Linked DNA regions of Homo sapiens: all the other regions are linked to region 2. Evidence: promoter capture Hi-C in human tissues and cell types (Jung and others, 2019). All regions are on one chromosome and are shown on one strand. Each heading gives the region's core, a stretch centred on a gene start or on the middle of the fragment in contact. The rest is flanking DNA. Distances are from core to core; before and after follow the strand shown.

What was found. The method cuts DNA at HindIII sites, captures the fragments that hold promoters and counts their contacts. A contact is called where the count stands out against the background at its distance.
Region 1: a fragment that was not itself captured here is called in contact with the fragment with the promoter of ADCY9 in region 2 in 1 of the 25 tissues and cell types used here (IMR-90 fibroblasts).
Region 3: a fragment that was not itself captured here is called in contact with the fragment with the promoter of ADCY9 in region 2 in 1 of the 25 tissues and cell types used here (dorsolateral prefrontal cortex).

The regions. Positions count from the first base shown.
Region 1 is chr16:3,863,799-3,866,498 of GRCh38, reverse strand. All of the region lies in intron 1 of CREBBP (CREB binding lysine acetyltransferase), which reads left to right. Among named protein-coding and RNA genes, the nearest start is that of CREBBP, 16 kb to the left of the region's middle. The HindIII fragment of the contact is 4,434 bases long and covers 1-2,700 here.
Region 2 is chr16:4,115,111-4,117,810 of GRCh38, reverse strand. ADCY9 (adenylate cyclase 9) reads left to right here and starts at 1,369. Exons shown (of 11, transcript NM_001116.4): 1 at 1,369-2,121; 2 at 2,326-2,700. The coding sequence starts at 2,369. RefSeq lists a silencer at 1,162-1,231. The HindIII fragment of the contact is 7,185 bases long and covers 1-2,700 here.
Region 3 is chr16:4,298,998-4,301,697 of GRCh38, reverse strand. No RefSeq gene overlaps it. Among named protein-coding and RNA genes, the nearest start is that of GLIS2, 16 kb to the left of the region's middle. RefSeq lists a silencer at 2,296-2,590. The HindIII fragment of the contact is 8,673 bases long and covers 1-2,700 here.

The sequences.
Region 1 (2,700 bases), core at 144-2,643, 250 kb after region 2:
TTTAGTTAATTCCTGTTGCAAAACCTTTAGACCTCTAATGAGAATTATTTGAACAAAGTACAAATTACCCCTAAGAGGCGCCATCCAGAGATAGGAAAATGGATTGTGTTTTAGTGTGGCGTCTGATCATCACTTGCTTTGTCACAAGCTCCATTTTTAACATCATCTTTATATTAGAGGTTTCTTCATTGATTTGCTAGAAGCCACAAGACATGACAGCCAACTAATTTTTGAGTATTTTGAAATAATGTCAGATTTCCCTGTGTGAGCGTTGGGTACAAAATGTTACATGTCGATTGTCACATCCCTTTAGAAAAAAATACTTTCGAAAAGTTCTTCTTTAAAGTGCCCTTTTCTTTTCTAGCCTTTTAAGCTTATTTGTACACTAAATATATTTTGAACTAATAGTGAACCCATTTCACATTTTATCCTCAAATCATAAGGACCCTAACTGGAAACTGGAGCACTGGGAACCATTCCAGGTGTTACCACCTGGTGCTGAAGTTAATCACCTGGGCCAGTATATCCCCAGTGGGGGTGCCTTAAAAAAAAATCAGTTTCTTGGCCGGGCGCGGTGGGCTCACGCCTGTAATCCCTGCACTTTGGAAGGCTGAGTTGATGGATCATGAGGTCAGGATATCGAGACCGTCCTGGCCAACATGGTGAAACCCCGTCTCTACTAAAATACAAAAATTAGCCGGGTGTGATGGCGTGCACCTGTAGTCCCAGCCACTCAGGAGGCTGAGGCAGGAGAATTGCTTGAACCCAGAAGGTGGAGGTTGCAGTGAGCTGAGGTCGCGCCACTACATTCCAGCCTGGGCGACAGATCAAGACTCCATCTCAAAAAAAAAAAAAATTAGTTCCTTTAATTACTTAAACTAGTAGTTCATTCACATGGCTCAGAAAACTCAGAGGACAAAACCTGTAGAGAGAGCCTCCCTCCACCTAGCTCCTCCCAGGTAACCACTGGAAGTAGTGCTGTCTTCCAGGGTTTATCTGTATTCAGGCAGACGCTGTTGACTCTTAGTTCTCTCTTCCCCCTTCCTGCCTTTTTCTTCTTAACTGAGGTAGCATAGTGTACACACAGCTGCATACGTTTATTGTCTTCTTACAGTTGTCTACCATTCCATTATGTGACCTGTGCCATAATTGCTTTAATCCTCTCCCCACTGGTGGACATTTAGGTTATTTCCAGTCTTGTCTTCTCACAAACAGTGCTTTAATGAATAGCCTTGTAAAGTTATGCGGACAGGCAAATCTATGGAACAGATTCATAGAAATAGAATTAGTGGTTAAAAGGCATATGCATTTATAGTTTTGATCATAGCAAATTTTCCTTCAAGAGCCTGTGTGTTGGTAGAGTCTTAAAATGTGAAAGGCAGCACATATATTCTCCAGGTATACATTGCTAGATGTGTTGCAGATATTCTTTTTTTTTTTGAGACAGAGTCTTGCTTTGTCGCCCAGGCTGGAGTGCATTGGCACGATCTTGGCTCACTGCAGCCTCCACCTCTCAGATTCAAGTGATTCTGGTGCCTCAGCCTCCTGGGATTACAGGCATGCACTACCATGCCCCGCTAATTTTTGTATTTTTAGTAAAGGAGGGGTTTTGCCATGTTGGCCAGGCTGGCCTCGAACGCCTGACCTCAGGTGACCTGCCTGCCTTGGCCTCCCACAGTGCTGGGATTACAGGTGTGAACCACCATGCCCAGCCACGGATATTCTTTATCAGCATAGTCTATGATGAGTAACACTAAGGTTGTTCTTCAGCTTGTGATTCTCCATCATGTTGTGCTTCTCAGTTGTTTCTGAATTCTCTCATTTTATGGTGTACCTTTTTATTATTATTTTGAGTCAGGGTCTCACTCTGTCACCCAGGATGGAGTGCAGTGACGTGATCTTGACTCACTGTAGCCTCCATCTCCTGGGCTCAAGCAGTCCTCCCACCTCAGCCTCCTGAGCAGCTAGGACTATGGGCATGTGCCACCATGCCTGGCTAATTTTTGTACTTTTTTTTGTAGAGACCGGGTTTCGCTATGTTGCCCAGGCTGGTCTTGAACTACTGGACCCAAGCAGTCCCCCTGCCTCGGCTTCCCAAAGTGCCAGGATTATAGGTGTGAGCCAACATACCTGGTACTGGCATACTTTTTGGACTTAAGGCATTCATTTTCTGTTTGTGGCTCTCAAATAGCCCACACGCCTCCACGCGTTGTACATGGACTGGCACTTCCAAGTCTGCTTTCACGTCTGGAATATGCTCTTTCCCCCTTTCTTGACTTCTTGTTGCCGCCTGCCAGCTACATCTCACAGCATTTGGGGCAAAGGACCTGGTCTCTGGATGTCTGTTTGCTTGTTCTTACAATATGGCTGGGGAATCTGAGGTGGCTGGGAATCTGGGGTCTGGGGCTGCTTCTGCAAAGGCTAGCTCCTAGCTCAGCCCCCACATTCTTCTTCCTCCAGGACTGTTCTTGGCTGGAGAATCCTCTCCCTGTAAGCAGGGTGGATAGGCAGCTGACTGTAGCACCTCTCCGGGGTCTGGTGCCCCTCTCAGCTGTGGTGGTGGTAAACAACCCGTTTTTGCTCCCCTGTCCCAGATGATTGGGCTAACGTGCAGGGGCTGCTGGGTCATTACTGTGTTCTGGTGGCAGCTGGCTGCTATGACAGGCACCTTCCATTCCACCCTTGTCCCCACCCTTCAGG
Region 2 (2,700 bases), core at 120-2,619:
GGCATGTGCCACCACGTCCGGCTAATTTTTGTATTTTTAGTAGAGATGGGGTTTCTCCGTGTTGGTCAGGCTGGTCTCGAACTCCCGACCTCAGGTGATCCGCCCACCTCGGCCTCCCAAAGTGCTGGGATTACAGGCGTGAGCCACCGCTCCCGGCCTAAACCACTTTAAAGTGTATGATTCAAGGGCAGTATGTAGATTCATCCTGTTGGATCATTTCTAGACTTTTTCATCATCCTAAAACGAAACCCCAAGCTGCTTATCTTCCTCCCCTAGCACCTGGCAACCTCCAATCTGTGTCGCCTCTACGGATTTGCCAATTCGAGACATTTCATCTGGATGGAATCATACGCTATGTGGCCTTTTTTGTTTGGCTTCTTTCACTAGCATAACGTTTCCCGGGTTCCTCCACACTGCAGCATGCATCGGTGCTCCATTCCTTTTTGTAGCCGAATAATATTCCATTGCATGGACAGATCACATTTTACTTTTATTTTCTAATTCAACAGTGAGACCTGGTGTGGGCCCCGGCGCTGGGCCTGGGAGGCGAGGGAGGGGATGGAAGAGAGCCCCGTGACTGGCAGGAGGCACTGTGGAGTGTGGGGAGAAGGGGTCGGGATCTGCATGCTAGAGAGAATAGGATTTTATTTACACGTGGCAATGTTTATGGAGGCCAATGCACAACTGCCATTATGGGACGCGGACTCCTTTGAAAGTCTCATTTGTGTAAAAGGAAAAGCAGTAGTTCATGAGGAGGGGGAGAAGGGCTCAAGGACAGCAAGGTAAACTACCCCTGGGGCGGGGGAACGTGGTCGTCGGTGGGCCCAGCTTTGGAGGCTAGGCCCGTGAAGGTCGCCCCGTGAGCAGGTCCAGGGCAGGCCGAGTGCCCCGGGGCCCGCATTCATTGCTTACAGAGCAAGGGGAGCCTCCCGGGAGGGAAATCCAACGGTTGGAAACTTCGATTTATCCCAAAGGCGTGCCGAGTGGGAAGGCAACATTTTGATTTCCCAAACGTTGCGGCCAGCGGCTTCTTCCACGGCAGGCGCCTTCAGGTCTCTCCGCAGGGTCGGGACCCCGGGCGGCGCGCGGCCTCTGGGACGCCGAGGGAGGGCGGGCCCACAGCGCCCGGAGCGCGGACAGCGGCCACAGCCCGCCGCCTAGAAGCGGCGCCGCCCGGGGCGGGGGGCGGAGCCGAGCGCGCGCCCCGCCCCGCCCCGCCCCGCCCCGCAGCCCCAGCCCAGCGCGCGCACCAAGGCGGGGCGGCGCGCGGCCCGTGCGCGTGTCCGGGGCCAGGAGGCGGTGGCGGCGAGCGCGGGCCGCGCGTGCGCGCTGCGGCTGGGCGAGGGGCGGCGCGGGCGCGCGTCTGTCAGTGACAGCGGGCGGGGCAGGGGCCGGAGATGGTGGCGGCGGCAGCTCTTCCGACATGAGGCAGCGGCCGCGGGGGACACGGCGGCGGGCGCGGCGGCGGCCGCATCTCTAGCTCGGGGAGGCGGCCCCCGGCGTGGGCGCGGGCGGGCGGGCGTCCCGGCCGGCGTCGCGGGAGCCCGGCTCTGCGGCAGCGTCTGCACCGCCGCCCGGCGAGGGGCCCGCGTCCGTGGTTCCACGCGCTCGGTCCCGGGACAGCTGCGGCCGCGGCGGGAGCGGCGGCGCACTCGGGGGGAAGCAGGCCCCACTAGACGGGCCGCGCCGACGGGCTCCGCGCACTCGCAGCCCGGGGCGCCCCCACCCCCAGCGCCCGCCGCCGCGGGCAGGGCCGGCCCGGAGCGCGGGGGGCGGCCGGGGAGCGCGAGCCGGGGGCGCCCGCCGAAGCTCGCTGCTCCGGGTCGGGGTCCGGGCCCGGGGCCGGCCGCGCGCCGCCTTTGACGCATCGGAGCGCGGCTCCTGCAGGATGGAGGGCTCCGCGCCGCCAGCGGAGTTGTTTGTGCGCAGGCGGCTCGCGGGGCTGGGAGCGCTCAAGGTCTGAACTTCCCTCCGGAGCCGCAGCTGGAGGAGGCGAGCGCGCGAGGAGGAGAAGCCGCGCGGCGCGGAGGCCACCCTCGGGGCGAGAGGCGCGGAAGGCGAGCGAGCAAAGCGGTCCCGGAGCCACGGCGGCCACGCGGCGGGGACCCCCGGGCGTTCTAGGTCCGTCCCGAGCGGTTCTCGTGCGCCTCGAAGGTGGGGGCGGTGGGGGCGGTGGGAGCACCGCTGAGCCGGGAACCACAGGAACAGATGGTGCCTGTCCAGGTCGCGTGCTGGAGCCGCCCCTTAGGACAGGAGCAGGTCCCGGGCCTCTAGGCGTGCATGCCTAGGTGGGAGCGCCGCTAACTCTCCCCGTTTTGCTGGCAGGTACTGGTGACCCCGGCCGGGGCAGGCCCCGGGACTCGACAACATGGCTTCCCCACCCCACCAGCAGCTGCTGCATCACCACAGCACCGAGGTGAGCTGCGACTCCAGCGGGGACAGCAACAGCGTGCGCGTCAAGATCAACCCCAAGCAGCTGTCCTCCAACAGCCACCCCAAGCACTGCAAATACAGCATCTCCTCTAGCTGCAGCAGCTCTGGGGACTCCGGGGGCGTCCCCCGGCGAGTGGGCGGCGGAGGCCGGCTGCGCAGGCAGAAGAAGCTGCCCCAGCTGTTCGAGAGGGCCTCCAGCCGCTGGTGGGACCCCAAGTTCGACTCGGTGAACCTGGAGGAGGCCTGCCTGGAGCGCTGCTTCCCGCA
Region 3 (2,700 bases), core at 74-2,573, 180 kb before region 2:
GATGACCCTTGAAAGCATTATGCCCAGTGACAAGCCAGACACACAGGACGCATGTTGTGTGTTTCTGTTCATATGAAATTTCCAGAATAGGCAAATCCATAGAGACTGGAAGTAGATTAAGGGCCAGGGGCAGTGGCTTACGTCTACAGGCATGAGCAGTTTGGAAAGCTGGGGCAGGAGGATCACTTGAGACCAGGAGTTCAAGACCAGCAGTTCAAGACCAGCCTGGGCAACAGAGTGAGACCCCTATCTCTAAAAAAAAATAAAGTTAGCTGAGTGTGGTGGCGCCCACCTGTAGTCCCAGCTCCACGGGAGACTGAGAGGAGAGGACTGCTTGACCCTGAGAGGTAGAGGCTACAGTGAGCTATGATCAAACCACTGAACTCCAGCCTGGGCAACACAGTGAGACTCTGTCTCTAAAAATAAATAAATAAAAAGATAGGGTAGCTTAGGGGTTGCCTGGGGCCTGGGGTGGTGGTGAGCATCGGGGAGTGACTGCTAAGTGGAGTTTCTTTTTGGGTTAATGAAAATATTCCAAAATTGGTCAGTTGCAGTGGCTCATGCCTGTAATCCAAGCACTTTTAGGAGGCCAAGGCACGTGGATCACTTGAGGTTAGGGGTTCGAGACCAGCCTGGCCAACGTGATGAAACTCCGTCTCTACTAAAAATACAAAAAAATCTAGCTGGGCCCGGTGGTGCTCACCTATAGTCCCAGCTACTTGGGAGGCTGAGGCGGGAGAATCGCTTGAACCCGGGAGACAGAGGTTGCAGTGAGCCGAGATCATGCCACTGCACTCCAGCCTGGGTGACAGAGTGAGACTCCGTCTTGAAAAAAAAAGAAAAAGAAAATATTCCAAAATTGCAGTTATAGATGCACAGATCTGTGGATATTTAAAAACAACTGAATCATCTACTGTGGTGTAATTGTAAAGTGGTGAATTATATGGATTATATCTCAATAAAGGTCTTTTTTTTTCTTTTTTTTTTTTTTTTTTTGAGACGGTATCTTGCTCTGTCGCCCAGGCTGGAGTGCAGTGGCACAATCTCGGCTCACTACAAGCTCCACCTCCCAGGTTGGTGGACATTCTCCTGCCTCAGCCTCAGCCTCCCGAGTCGCTGGGACTACAGGTGCCTGCCACAATGTCTGGCTAATTTTTTGTATTTTTAGTAGAGACGGGGTTTCACCGTGTTAGCCAGGATGGTCTCGATCTCCTGACCTCGTGATGCGCCCACCTCGGCCTCCCAAAGTGCTGGGATTACAGGTGTGAGCCACTGCACCCGGCCTCACCAAAGGTCTTATTAAAAAAATTAGCCAGATTCCCTGCTTCAGTGATAAAAAAAAAAAAAAAAAAGAGGGGCAGGAGAAGAGGACCCAATAACTTCCTGAGTGACTGGGGAAAATATTTTTGGGTTATATTTCTGTAATTCTCGTGAAGTGATTACAGAAGTGACGGGATAGAAGAGGTTTCTTTAAAAAAAATTTTTTTTTTAATTTAGTAGAGATGGGATCTTGCTATATTGCCCAGGCTGGTCTTGAACTCCTGGACTCAAGCAGTCCTCCTGCCTGGGCCTCCCGGAGCTCCCGGGTTACAGGTGTGCAATCCCATGACCAGCCGATAGAGGACGTTTCTATTCATCCTTCAGACCTCAGCTTACAAGTTACCCCAAGATAAGCCTCCCCCACCCCATAACCCTCCCTCTGTCACTTTGTCACGTGTCTGAGCCCTTGTTTCTTCCTTTTTTTTTTTTGAAATGAAGTCTTGTTCTGTCGCCAGGCTGGAGTGCAATGGCGTGATCTCGGCTCACTGCAATCTCTGCCTCTTGGGTTCAAGCGATTCTCCTGCCTCAGCCTCCCGAGTTGCTGGGATTACAGGCACATACCACCACACCCAGCTAATTTTTGTATTTTTAATAGAGACGGGGTTTCACCATGTTGGCCAGGGTGGTCTCCATCTCCTGACCTCATGATCTGCCAGCCTTAGCCTCCCAAAGTGCTGGGATTACAGGCGTGAGCCACCGCGCCAGGCCTGTTTCTTCCTTTTATAGCTCTTCCCACACTTGGAATTCTTTTCTGCCTCTGGACCTGATTTTGTTGGGCTCTTGCCCAGCTGAGTTCCGTGAGGTTCGGGGCTTGTCTGTATCTTGTCTGCCACATCATAGGTGCTCAGTGCACACCTGTTGAGTGGATGCACCATAGATATATTGATAACAGCTGTGAGCGGTTGGGAGCGAGTGAGCAGAGCAGGGCTGCTCAGGGTGTCTCCAGCCCTAGTGGCTTTCTCTCTGTTCCAGTTCCAGGAGAAAGTCTCTGGAAAGGAAGCCCGAAGTCGGGTCTGGCTGGGAAGAGGTGGGGGCTGGGGCGGGTGCCGGGTGCTGGGGCTGGGAGGAAGTCTGCAGCCAGGCTGCTGAGGGTGTGGCGTCTGTGTGTGCACCTTTGGAATGTGGCTGATTCACTCTGAGGGGAGCCATATGCTGCCGCCACCGCCTCGGATCTGACATCTGGAGGCTGAATTCCAGGAGGAGAGAGACAGATTCCTGCAAGCAGATGCCAACTTTGAAGGTCAAAGGGAGCAATGGAACTGCTTTGAGGGGGGTGAGAGGGTCCAACACTCCCTCCAGGGGCTGGGAGGGAGGTGAGGCCCCCTCCCCAGACTTGCCTGAGCCCCTGATCTATCAGAGCCTCTATGCGGACAGCTGGGG